Linked DNA regions of Homo sapiens: regions 2, 3 and 4 are each linked to region 1. Evidence: promoter capture Hi-C in 16 types of primary human blood cells and fetal thymus (Javierre and others, 2016). All regions are on one chromosome and are shown on one strand. Each heading gives the region's core, a stretch centred on a gene start or on the middle of the fragment in contact. The rest is flanking DNA. Distances are from core to core; before and after follow the strand shown.

Region 1 (3,232 bases), core at 466-2,965:
CTTCCTGGATGCTGAATGTGCGCGGGGCGGCGGGGCGCGGGCCAAGATGAAGATTAAAGCAGGGGAAAAAAAGGAAAGCCACCCAGACGCGGGCGAATCAATAACACTTAAAACACACCGGCAGGCTGGCGGTACTGGCGCGAGCCCCGCAGCCGCCTCTCCGCCGCTGGTCGGGCTGGCGGCCCCTGGTCGGCTCTGCACGCACCTGCTAGCGGCCGCGGCCGGACAACTTGCGAAATCCCCGCTCCAGAGACGTGGACTGGGGAAGTGACGGGGTAGGGGGGTAGTAGTGACAAAACACAAAGGGTCTGCCACGCACATCCCCTCGCCGCAGCCCCTGCGGTCCACCCCTCCTCAAAAGGGATGGTAATGGGTTCACTGCTGGGGGCTGGAGGGGCAGGGTGTGTGAGACCTACCAAGCGGGCCCTTCAGCGCCAGAACCTCTATCCATGCCCAGATCCCCCCGCCCCCACACCGCTCCGAGCCTCACACGCGTTGTCTTAAGTACAAAGGGTGACCGGCTTTGCACAAGCAGCTCCAGGACGCGTCCCGAGCTGCCCCCTCCCACCTTCCAGCCAGAGCGCCCCCGAGCCCCACCTCCACAGAAACGCTAGGTGAAGCCGGAGGGCTGCTCGCGCGCCCGGCCGCCTCTGCTGCCCAGTTCCAGGGGGCGGGGTGTCCCGCCTCTCTCTAGCGCTTGTCTCCCTCTGTGTCTCAGACCGCCTCTCGTCCCACCTTTGTGTGTGTTTGTTGGGGGTGGGACGTGCTGTCCCCTTGGCCCGGGAAGGGGCTCTGGGAGTCTAAGGGCCCCTGGAAATTGGGTGGTGCCAAGGCTCCGAGCGGCGGTTTATGTTTTTGCCAGCGAATGTCCTTCCTCCTGGGTACCTGTTCCCTGTTTGCACGGACCGGCCCCGCCAGCCACCTGGGGACTGCCCAGTCTCTAGGAACGGCTGTGCCGCGCCTCCTGAGAGAGTTCGTCTCGGGCTCCGGGGACTGAGCTCCCCGAGATTGGCTGTGGTCCTGGCTTGATGTTCCTGCTAGACCTGCTGTCCCTATGCCCGGGTCCGAAGGGTCCCCGGGATGGGCTGAACCTTTGCAGCAGCTAGCCCTCCCCCAGAGTCCCTCAGGCTGGAGCGTCCCTACCGGCTGTCTCTGGTCCTGGGGGATTCCAGACTCAGACGTCCTCAGGATGGCCAGTCCCCCTGCCTATATCTCCTGGGGTGTCCTGCGGGGGGCCTTTGTGCGTCCACCGCTCCCACACCGCACCCACCCGGCCTCTCAGAGAAGCTGTGGAAGTTGGCCGGCAGAGGCTCGCAGGCGGCACACCTCCCTCCCCGGGCCGTGCCAACTTTGTCGAAACACGCGCGGAAAGGGCGCAGGCAGCCCTTACCCGATCCGGAGGTAGACCATGCCCAGGCTGAGAAAGAGGTGGCCCAGGCAGCGCCGCGCTTTCCGGTTCATAGTCCCGATTGGCCGCCGGGGCCGCGGGCCGGGCTGTGCTGATCCCGCGGGCCGGCCCCGGCGGGGCAATCAACATAGCCCGCCCGGGAGGCGCGAGCCGAGGCGTCCCCGGGGCCGTCTGTCGGTGCGCCCGTCCGCGCGCTCCGCGCCTGAGCCTCGCCAGGAGCACGGGAGCCACGGAGCGGGAGGAGGGAGGGAGGAGCGAGCGCGGCGTGGGGCGACGCCGGGCTGCGCGCGAGCGACCGGTGCAAGTGTGCGAGACGCGGGGAGTGCGGGGGCGCTGCTGCCTCCAGCCCCCGCCCCTCCCTCCTTTCCCCCGTCCCTCCCCCGCCCCCTCCCCCGCCCGCCTCCCCGGAGCGCCCGCCCAGCGCCCCTGCGCCCGCGGGACAGGGCCGCCTGCACAAGGCGCGCGCTCGCGCCTTTCCATGCGCGCTCCCGGGGGCCCCCTCCCTGCTCCGGGGTGCAGGTGGCAGGCTGGGGAGCACAGCCCGGTTGGAGGCGGTAGGAGCCCGCTCGCCCCCCACCCGTCACTAACTTGCAGATTGCAGGGCGAGTGGGCGTCCAGAGGCTGCCCTCGGGTGGAGTGGACCAGACTCGGCCGAGAGGCCTAGTGCCTTGGTCTGCTGCCCTGCTCCCTCCAGCCCGGAACAGGGAGCTGGGGCTGACAGGGCACACCCCAGTTCCCCAACCCCAGCTTCAGGGGAGGGCGCCCCCTTTCGCGGAGCGACGGGCTGACTGGCTCAGTGTATTTCTTCCCTACTCCCACCTATTCGAGAGTGGCGGCAGGGGGTGCCCAGGTTGGGCAGCCTCCTCTGGGATCCTGCTGTTAGCCGACAGACTGAGTCGGGCTGAGGCCCAGTTGCCCCGCGCGGAACAGCAGTGGGGCGCCTGAGCCGCGGGAGCGTGAGGGGCGCAGCTGGCCGCTCAGAGCGCGCTCGCGGCGTCACCAGGCGGACGCGGCGGGTGGTGCACCTCGGCCTCGCTCCCGGGAACAGAATGCTTTGAGTGCCCTGGCCGACCCGAGGGGGCTAACACCCTTCTTTGGTGTACACCTCATCCAGTGAGCTAGGGGGAGTCTAACCGTCCCTGGAAATTGGGTGGTGCCAAGACTCCGAGCGGCAGTTTATGTTTTTGCCAGCGAATGTCCATCCTCCGGGTACCTGTTCCCTGTTTGCACGGACCGGTCCCGCCTGCCACCTGGGGGTTGCCCAGTCTCTAGGAGCGGCTGCGCCTGCGCCTCCGGAGAGTGTTCCTCTCGGGCTCCAGGGACTGAGCTCCCTGGGAGTGGCTGTGGTCCTGGCTTGGTGTTCCTGCTGGACCTGCTGTCCCTATGCCCAGGTCTGGCAAATCTGAACTCAGGTTTCAGCTGAAGACACTGAGGCTCAAGGAGGTGAAGGTGTTTGCCCAGAGTCACCAGCTAGCGAGTGGCACAACCATATGGGAAACAAAGTATGCCCAACTGTAGTAACCTCCTGCACCCAGTCCTGACTATCCTTCAAGATTGCCTTTCTAAATTACACACACACACACACACACACACACCCGAAAGCCACCATTCAGGTATTCATTCATATTCCATATTCTGTGCCAACCACGATAGTGGGCACCGTGGACACAAGGAAGAAGAAAGGCAACAGTCTTTCTTCTTGGGGCCAGGAAGGAGACAGATGATAAGTGAACAAGAACAGAGTTGCAGATAGTAGACCATTAAGCAGGGTGATGGGAGAGGGAATACTGGGTGTTGGAGGGTTAATTTTAGATCTGAGGAGGT
Region 2 (3,232 bases), core at 230-2,729, 750 kb after region 1:
AGCCAGGCACTACAGTGCAGCAGAATCCAAAATCTCCCCCTCTCCCCCACCCTGTCTGCTGCCAACCCACCCCAGGGGCTGTACTAGCTGACAAGTTTCTAGTTGCCATCAGCTATGTGGCAGATGTCCCCAGTTTGGCAGAACAGCATTTCCTTGGCACAGATTGTCCCAGGGCACAGCTGAGACAGAGGTTCTGGCTATGTCAGTGGCCAAATCTGATTTAAAATGGGGAGGCCGATTGCCAGCATTCCAGATCGTCCCTAGTAAATGTGAGTAAACAGAGCTGTTGTTAAAGCAGTTGGAGTGAGTCCACTCATTCAATAAATATTTCATGAACACCTACTTTGTGTCAGGCATTGTGGATACTGTTAACCGTGAGCACACATAACGTCTGCTCTTAGGGTTTCAATCTCAATGGAGACAGACACTAATCAAGGAACCACTCAAATTACTATATAGTTTTTAAAAGCCAGTAAATGTTACAAATGCAAATTACAGGGTGCTATGAAACCTTGTAACAGGAGGTCTGTTGTAAACTGCTGTTGTATTGCCCACTCAGCCTCGTGACCTCATCTTCTTAATTTTCCTTCAGGGACGTACTTTTTCCTTCCATCAGCCCATGTAACTCAGGCGGGAAGGAGTTTATGGTGGGCACATGACCCTGCCTGATGGGAACACTCCATTCTCTGACCACTCCAATGACTGGTCAAAGATATGCATGTGACCTAAGTCGGGCCAATGAGATTCGACTCTGGGACTTTTGTAGGGACAACTGGAAGAGGGTTGTTCTCTCTCAATTGGGGTTTCTAAGCTGGAAGCTCAAATATCTTGAGCTTAAATAGGAGCCCCAGGGGAGAGCTTGCTTAAGCCTGGAGCCTCACAGAGGAAAGGTGAGAGATTTTTCACTAGGCAGCTTCTGGCAATGTCATTTGAGACCCTAGATCTAGCTATACCTGAAGCCAGATACTAGCTGGGCTTTTCCATTATCTGAACCAACAGTCACCCTTTTTGACTTAAGTCACTTTAAGTTTGTTTTTCCACCCCTTGCAATCAAGAGCTCTGCCTGATACAGGACTAAAGGGTTTTGGAAAGCTTCCCTGAGAAGTGACATTCATGCTGAGTGCTGAAGGACAAGTAAGAGTAAACTAGGCAAAGAGGCCAAGTCTGAAGTCAGCAGTTTTGGGGTTTAAAAACCTTGAGAAATTTGGGAAAGGGAAGGGGCCTTCATCCTGTGTAGACAGAAAAAGAATTAATGAAGGGATATCACCTGGGAGAAAAGGCAAGTTGCAAATCACACTTAACCCTTAAATCATTTGTTGTTTTTCATTTCAATAAACATGGAAATTTTCATCCCTATTCACTTTTGAAAAGATCTATATTATAATAAGCTCCCTTTGCAGACAGAAGGTGCCCTTCCCTGCACCAGCCATTCCCAAGGGGGTGAGGCCTAAGCCTGCCTTCAAAACCACCTCTGCTTCTGGCTTTGGGGTACTTTTAAAAGAAAGGAAGAAGGCAGGGGGAGGAAGAGAGGGAGGGAGGAAGGGAGGAGAAATAAGAAAGCAAGAAAGAACAATTAAAGCAAAAAGCAATTACAGACTGTAAATGGGACCTACTTTTAAATGCAAATAACCATTTCATAATTTACTAGTTTTATGACATTGTGTAATTTTGTGCCTCAGATTTTCTTAAATTTTAAGCGTTTATTTTTTTCATCACAAAAGTAATATAATCACATTTTGGAATGTGTAGAAGAGAAACAATAACTCTTTCTAATTTCCTTGTTTCAACCCAGCCAAAGTTAGTTTTTGCCACTTTTCTTCTTTTTGTTTGGCTAGTTCCGTGCAACATACAGAGTGCACTACTTTTCAAGCTTCAATGTGCATATGGGTCACTTGGAGATTTGTTAAAATGCAGATTCTGACTCAGTAGGTCCCGGGGCCGGGGATTCTGCATTTCTGATAATCTTCCCAGTGGTGGCAGGGCCAGTCCCAGACCACACATTGTGTCAGCGGGAGCTGAGGTCAACTCCAGGCTGTGTGGCTTCACGCAACCCACTCAGCATTTTTGTCCCAGTCCCTGAGTTCTGGTTTTTAGGAGTCTCCTGTTGGCCCCTGAACTGGATGAAGGGGACAGAGAGTCAGAAGATGTCTAAGGCACCAATGTCTAAGTGCTGCTAAAACGTCCCTGGGAGAAACATGTGGGTTTGAAAGGATAGCTTTGAGAAGCTACTGAGGTAGGGGTGACACCCTTGAGGAGGCTGTTCCACAGGGGGCTCCACAAAGGGTGGGCCCCAGTAACTCCTTCTTTTTTATTTCTTTTTTTTTTGTGGGGGACGGAGTCTTGCTCTGTCGCCAGGTTGGAGTGCAGTGGCATGATCTCGGCTCACTGCAACCTCCACCTCCTGGGTTCAAGCGATTCTCCTGCCTCAGCCTCCCGAGTAGCTGGGACTACAGGCGCCCGCCACCACACCCAGCTAATTTTATTATTTTTGTAGAGACGGGGTTTCACCATGTTGGCCAGGATGGTCTTGATCTCTTTTTCTTTTTCTTTTTCTTTTTTTTTTTTTTGAGACGGAGTCTCGCTCCGTCGCCCAGGCTGGAGTGCAGTGGCGTGATCTCAGCTCACTGCAAGCTCTGCCTCCTGGGTTCATGCCATTCTCCTGCCTCAGCCTCCTGAGTAGCTTGTACTACAGGCACCCACCACCATGTCCAGCTAATTTTTTGTATTTTTAGTAGAGACGGGGTTTCACCATGTTAGCCAGGATGGTCTCGATCTCCTGACCTCGTGATCCACCCACCTCGGCCTCCCAAAGTGCTGGGATTATAGGCATGAGCCACCGCGCCTGGCCAGTCTTATCTCTTGACCTTGCAATCTGCCCACCTCAGCCTCCCAAAGTGCTGGGATTACAAGCGTGAGCTAGCGCATCTGGCCAGCCCCAGCAACTTCTTTTTTTAAATTTAATTTAATTTAATTTATTTATTTATTGAGACGGAGTCTTGCTCTGTCACCCAGGCTGGAGTGCAGTGGCACAATCTCGGCTCACTGGAACCTCCGCCTCCCGGGTTCAAGCAATTCTCCTGCCTCAGTCTCCCGAGTAGCTGGGATTACAGGTGCGTGCCACCATGCCCAGCTAATTTTTTGTATTTTTAGTAGAGACAGGGTTTCACTGTGTTAGCCAGGATGGTCTCGATCTCCTGACCTCGTGATCTGCCCGCCTCAGCCTCCCAAAGTG
Region 3 (3,232 bases), core at 277-2,776, 690 kb after region 1:
GAGCTCCAGTGACCCTGGGTCTCTGTGCCAGGGGGTCTGCCCAGCATTTCTGGGGGTTGAGAGGGCTTTTCCAGGTCAGAAGTGGGAGATGGGATCAGGCTCCCGCTCTTCCCTGGGCACCAGCCAGTGAGACCCTCATCTGGGAAACGAGGCAAGAATTAAGGGAAAGGGGCGAAGGCTGGGTCTACCCTTGGGGAGACAGTGTTACATGAGGGGTTCTTGTCCCCTCTGGCAGGTGGGTTAATTGAGAAGGGAAAAAACAAGCTCAAGGTCACAGAGTCCATTGAAAGCAGAGTCAGGGCTTGAACTCAAGTGCTGGGCTCCCAGACGGGGCTGCTGTTCCCACTTAGCAGATGTGCCTGTTGGGCCAGTGGCTGGAGTGGAGCTGGACCCCCACGCTAATAGGGCTTCTCAGGCCCTCACAAACACAGGAAAAGGCCTCCAGCCTCCACATGGCAACAAGAACCAACCCGCACAGCTGGGCAGGACCCTGCCTCCTCTCTCCCTACCTCCCCAACAAATCCCACACCCCAAGTCCCGAAGGCCCGGAGAGGTGGGAGAGCAGGGTTGTGCCACAGGATGAGAAGGGGCTGTGTAAAATTTACCCACTCCGGGCCTTGGCATCCTCAGTGTAAGTGGCCAGCAGCACAGCACTGCCTTGGGAACGGGAAAGTGGGTGTGACAGACCCTTGCAGGGAGCTATGTCCCAGCATCGCCCTTCACGCGGGCAGTCTGCAGGTCTGTACCTCCCACCTGGCCCATAGAAAACTGGAAGCCCACACAGAGGGGCGCTGGAGCTTGTCCCGGCCACCTCGTCACCAGCACAGCCCCCATCCTGCCATGCATCTCACCCCCACAACTGCCAAGCTCAAGCACAGAGAAAGGAGCGTGCCCTAGGTGACACAGTTCACTCATAGCTTGCTAGTGGCAGGGCCATCTCTGGGTGCTGCTTCCTGTGGGTCACAGCACAGAGGCTTCTAGCCTCAGATGAAGAAAGGGAGGAGCGCATCCCAGAGGTGCCCTGAGGCTCTCAGACAGCCCAGCCTTGCTGCAGCATGGCCAATAACTGTGTGATCTTTCTCCAGGTCAGCAGGGTCAATGATCTGGACAAAGTCCTGTGACTCTGGCCATTCAAACGAGCCACCGTAGTGTGGGAATCGGAGTCCAGCAGGAAACTAGGTGACAGACCATGAGAGCCACAGGGCTCTTAGACAAGATCACAGAGCCACATGACCACAGGGGACTGGATGATAGCCCACAAGGCCACAGAGCTCCCAGGGATGGGAACACAGAGTCACACACCACAGGACTGGGCGACAGCCCACAAGGGCACACAAAATTGAAACCCTGGAGCCACAGAATGTTAGCTTCAGGAAGCCCCAGATGGTAGCTCAAGAACTGCAGGCATTACGCTCATGGATCCATACCCACCACGCTGTGGTCTGGCCACAGGCCATTAGAACCGCAGCAGAGAATGCCAGAACTACAGACAGAAGCCACAGCAGCGAGTGGAGCCAAACCACAGGTTATCAGAGTCAGGGTGGGGACAGAGCAAGGCGATCAACATCATTGGACCTCAGACCATTCAGTGTTCAAAGGGACAGTGTAAGCCATCCGTGTTGCTCACCAAGCAAGCCGTGACCTCCTAAAAGCTCCTTTTCACAGCCCCTGACCCCTCCAATCTTGCCCTTAGCTCCAGAGAGCTCCAATCTTGCCCTTAACCCTGGAAAACTCCCCTTTCCATGGCTTCCAGTGAGAGATGCAGTCACATGGCCACTGTGTGACCTGGGATGATTCTCTGCCTACTCTGGGCCTCAGTTTCCCCACTGTAAAATTAAGAAGTTGGCCCTCTCTGAGGTCCTTTCTGATTATTGGAGGTGGGGTCCAATAATCAAAGGTAGGGTCAACCTCACCTCCAATAATCTGTGAAATGATCACATCACTTCTCTCCCTCTCTACAATCTTCTGTGGCTCCCAAAGGACTCACTTGAATGAATGAATGAATGAATGAATGAATGAACGTCAACTGCCCAGCCTTGAGGCATCTTTTTGCCCTTTGCCCTCAGTCCTGCTGCTTGAGGCCAGCTGGAGCATTCAATGATTCCCCTCGATTTCCCTTTCAGTTTGGGGCAGATTCTTATGCAACTCACTCAGCAGTGAGGGCAAGGCTAGGACTCATACCCAGGACTCTTGGTTCCAAACACCCTTCCAATCTGTTCCTGAGCACTGGAAAAAATACCTACAAGAAGGGAGCAGGCCCCTAAGACGAATCTTGGCTACAAGTCATTCTAAGCCCCCTGCCTCTGCAGCATGGGATCCCGCTCAGTGAGGCCAACCATCCCTCATGCCCTCCCTGGGGACCCTGCATGCCTCTGGGCTGCAGTGTCACATGGCATCCCAGGAGTCATGGCATCCCAGGAGACATGGCATCCCAGGAAACATGGCATCCCAGGAGTCAGGAGAGACAGCACGAGGTTCAGGATGATGCCACCACTCCAGGGACAAGGAAAACCAGGGGTGATAACAAGGTCACAACACACACTGGGGACTCTTCTAGTCCTCAAACAAGGATTTTCATGAGGCCCTGGCAGTGGGAGCATTGAGAGAACCTGTAATGATGATGACAGCGGTATAATCCAGTAGCATTTATTCCCAGGCCCAAAGCATTCAATAGTGCCCGTCATTCATTCACTTGCTCATGTGCTGGGCAGCTCTTATGCTCCAGCAGTGAATAAGGCTTCCAGCACTTACGTTCTACGCAGAGAGACAAACAAAGACATGATAAATATGTAACACACCACAGGTTGAAATAAGTGCTTTGAAGAAAAATGAAGTGGTGTGAGATGGTTATGAGGTAGGGGGAGGTCTCTGTGATCAAGTCTTCACACAAATGAAGGGAATAGGGGACCCAACCATGCCCAACCATGCAGATTGCTGAGCCAGGCAAAGAACACGGCCCATGCAAAGGCCCTGGTTTGAGGCCCAGCAAGGAGGCCAGGGCTGAAGCTGAGTGATGGACGGAGTAGCAGAAAGGATGTCAGTGGGGTCCCAGGGGCAGACCACCAAGGGCCAGGTTGGCTGCAGTGAGGACTTTGGTCTTCCTCAGAGGGAGGTGGGAGCCATGGGAGGGTGTTGAAGAGAGGAGGGAGTGATCTGACCTAGGTTTTAACAGTATCCCTGTGGCTGCAGGGGAGGGACAGACTGAGGAGGGAGTGAGGGTGGAGGTGGGAAG
Region 4 (3,232 bases), core at 327-2,826, 650 kb after region 1:
AGTTTGTTTAGCTATTGACTTGTGTTTCCAGTTTTTGGTGATTTTGAATAAAGCCATAATAAACATTTGCATACAGGTTTTCGTTTGAACATAAGTTTCTGTTTCATCCAGGAATGGCATTGCTAGGTGGTATGGCAAGAATATGGTTAACTTTATAAGAAACTGCCAAACTGTTTCAAAGTGGCTGTGCCATTTTGCACCCGACCAACAATGTAAAAGAGTTTCAATCGCTGTGCATCCTCATCAGCACTTGGTAATATCAGTTAGGGTTTAAACGAAAAAATTTAAGCTGGGCACACTGGCTTATACCTGTGACCCCAACACTTTGGGAGGCCAGGGTAGAAGGATTGCTTGAGCCCAGGAATTCAAGACCAGCCTGGGCAACACAGCAAAACCCTGTCTCCCTAATTAAAAAAAAAAATTAGTCATGCTAATACATGTGCAGAGGTATCTTACTGTGATTTTAATTTGCATTTGTCTAATGACTAATGAGGTTGGGCACTTTTTTTAACTTGCCATTCATCTATATCTTCTTTGGGGAAGTGCCAAAGCTTTTGCCCATTTTTAAGTTGGGTTGTTTGTTTCCTTGTTATTGAGTTTTCATATATTCCGGATACAAATCCATTGTCAGATGTAATAATGTGTGCTTTGAAAAGCCTTCTAGGTGACTCTGTGTCGCACTAAAGTTTGAAAAACATTTGTGGCTGGGCGTGGTGGCTCACGCCTGTAATCCCAGCACTTTGGGAGGCCAAAGGGGGCGGATCATGAGGTCAGGAGATCAAAACCATCCTGGCTAACACAGTGAAACCCTATCTCTACTAAAAATACAAAAAAAAAAAAAAATTAGCTGGGCGTGGTGGCAGGCGCCTGTAGTCCCAGCTACCTGGGAGGCTGAGGCAGGTGAATGGCGTGAACCTGGGAGGCGGAGGTGGCAGTGAGCCGAGACCGTGCCACTGCATTCCAGCCTGGGCGACAGAGTGAGACTCCGTCTCAAAAAAAAAAAAAAAAAAAAAAAAGGAAAAACACTTGTATAATGAATTGGTATTACCTCACAGGTAGTTTTAACAATCATTAACACTTTGCAGTATTTAGCCCATTTATTTTTATCTATGCTGAAATATTTTAAAACAAATCCTGGGCATAATGCAATTTCACCTTTAAATATTTCAATATGCATTTCTAAATAAGAACATATTTCTTATACAATAAAAGTATTATATCCCACCTTACAAAGTAATACCATAATTATTAGTCTAATACCCATTCCAAATTTTAATTCCAACAGTACATTTATGGCTCTTGAAAGCTTTGTTTGATTATTTTGCTTTTATCTTTGTTCTGTTTTTATATTTTGCTCTTCCTTTTTCTGTTGCTCCTTATCTTTCTAATAATTTTAAATATTTTGAACATTCACCTATTATTTTATTTTTCCATTATCTCAAACTCTTGGGAGGTATTTCTTCTGCCTAGTGTCTGATGACTCTCCCTTACAGTAGACTGTTTCCTCGTGTGGTTGGTAATTGTTGGATTGTGAACTCATCTTTAGTAGTGCTTCAACTGTGGGAATTCTATTCAGCCTGGTTGTAGGGCTCCAGGGTCCAGAGAGAATTTTCCATTCCTTCCCCTGGGTGCTTGCCAAAGTATCATTACCCTGATATCAATGATTATGGGTATTTACAACACTCATTAGAATTTATAATACCTCCATGGTATTGTAAATACCAATCTTGGCTCAAAGATTTCAGAACCATGGAGGTATTATAAATTCTAATGTTCACCAGAAACAAGGGGCACACCTTAGATCACAAATCCTCAAAGGAGACCACTGGAGGCTGAGTTGAGACAGATAAGCTTTTGTTTTAGCTCCCTGATAGACGGGTGAATATTTTCCAAGTCTCCTCTTTCACTGAGGGTAGATCTCTTCAAAGGTCCTGGCTTTATGCCGGGGTCTCAGTACCAACTTGGGAAAGTACAAGGTAGCTTTTCCTGTGTCTCTGAGCCATTAAAACCCAAGCCTTCGGCTACCAGACGCACAAACATCCCCCCATTCCTGCTGCCACCCCAGTAGAGAAGCCCCAGCATCACCTGCACTCATCCTACTTGTTTTCCATTTCTCTCCATTTTTTGAGTGGAAATGCATGTATAGGCCCATTTGTGGAGAATTGATGTCTTTTTCTTTGGGAGACAATATTGAATCTTCCAGTCAATGATCACAGTATATTCCTCCATTCATTTTTATCTTTAATTTCTCCTAAGAACACTGTGTACTTGTATGAGAAAAAGTCTTATACCACTCTCATTAAATGTATTCCTAGGCATTTAAAGTGTGTTAAAGCTACAGAAATTGGATTGTTTTTCAAATTTCATTTTCTAATTATTTGTTCCTGGTGTAAAAATATACAGTTCGTTTTATATTCTGAGCTTAAAAAATTTATTTTTAATTCTTGTGGGTATGTAGTAGGTGTATATATCTATGGGGTAGATGAGATATTTTGATACAGGTACGCACTGCATAATAATCACATCAAAGTAAATGGGGTATCCATCACCTCAAGCATTTATCCTTTGTGTTACAAACAATCCAATTAAATCTTTTTAGTTATTTTTAAATGTACAATTACATCATTATTGACTATAGTCACCCTAGTGTGCTATCAAATACTAGGTCTTATTCATTCTTTCTATTTTTTTTTGCAAAACTACGGAAGACTTCACAAATTTGTGTGTCATTCTTGCACAGAGGCCATGCTAATCTTCTCTGTATCATTCCAATTTTAGTATCTGTGCTGCCTAAGCGAGTACGTATTCTGAACTTTTAAATTCACTCATTAATTCTAAGTTTAGCCATACATTCTTTTGGATTTTCTATATACATAATCATATCATCTGTGAAAATGACAGTTTTATTTCTTACTTTCTAAACTTTATGCCTTTCATTTCTCTTATTTGCCTTATTGGACTGGCCAGACCTCCCTTACAAAGTTGATGGGGTGATTACACAGACCATCCTTATCTCCTTGATACTCTCACTCGCTTCATTTCTGATGCCTGAGGTTGTCCTTACTTTCCTGTGACTGCACCTGAGCATTTCAAAGGAGTTTGAAGCTGGAAGCTTGTCTGGTCACCTGCTGGACCCCAGCCTCCCTGCAGCATCCCTCCTTTTGCACATGCCTCATTTTGCGGGGCTCTGCCTGAGTTAAAGGCAGGGTTCAGCCTGATGGGGCATATTCTG

Evidence for each region. The method cuts DNA at HindIII sites, captures the fragments that hold promoters and counts their contacts. A CHiCAGO score of 5 or more calls a contact.
Region 2: a fragment that was not itself captured here is called in contact with the fragment with the promoter of WNT7A in region 1 in 1 of 17 cell types (M0 macrophages); the score reaches 5.6 in M0 macrophages.
Region 3: a fragment that was not itself captured here is called in contact with the fragment with the promoter of WNT7A in region 1 in 1 of 17 cell types (M0 macrophages); the score reaches 5.7 in M0 macrophages.
Region 4: a contact is called between a fragment that was not itself captured here and the fragment with the promoter of WNT7A in region 1, in 1 of 17 cell types (M0 macrophages). The highest score is 7.3, in M0 macrophages.

What each region holds. Positions count from the first base shown.
Region 1 is chr3:13,878,356-13,881,587 of GRCh38, forward strand. It overlaps WNT7A (Wnt family member 7A), which reads right to left and starts at 1,716. Exons shown (of 4, transcript NM_004625.4): 1 at 1,391-1,716. The coding sequence starts at 1,461. RefSeq lists enhancers at 189-690, 1,193-1,694. The HindIII fragment of the contact is 8,507 bases long and covers 1-3,232 here.
Region 2 is chr3:14,623,613-14,626,844 of GRCh38, forward strand. No RefSeq gene overlaps it. Among named protein-coding and RNA genes, the nearest start is that of CCDC174, 27 kb to the right of the region's middle. The HindIII fragment of the contact is 778 bases long and covers 1,091-1,868 here.
Region 3 is chr3:14,565,035-14,568,266 of GRCh38, forward strand. It overlaps a transcript of GRIP2 not described here. Among named protein-coding and RNA genes, the nearest start is that of GRIP2, 26 kb to the left of the region's middle. The HindIII fragment of the contact is 5,512 bases long and covers 1-3,232 here.
Region 4 is chr3:14,528,287-14,531,518 of GRCh38, forward strand. The region is part of intron 1 of GRIP2 (glutamate receptor interacting protein 2); the gene reads right to left. It also overlaps the pseudogene RNU6-905P. Among named protein-coding and RNA genes, the nearest start is that of GRIP2, 10 kb to the right of the region's middle. The HindIII fragment of the contact is 545 bases long and covers 1,305-1,849 here.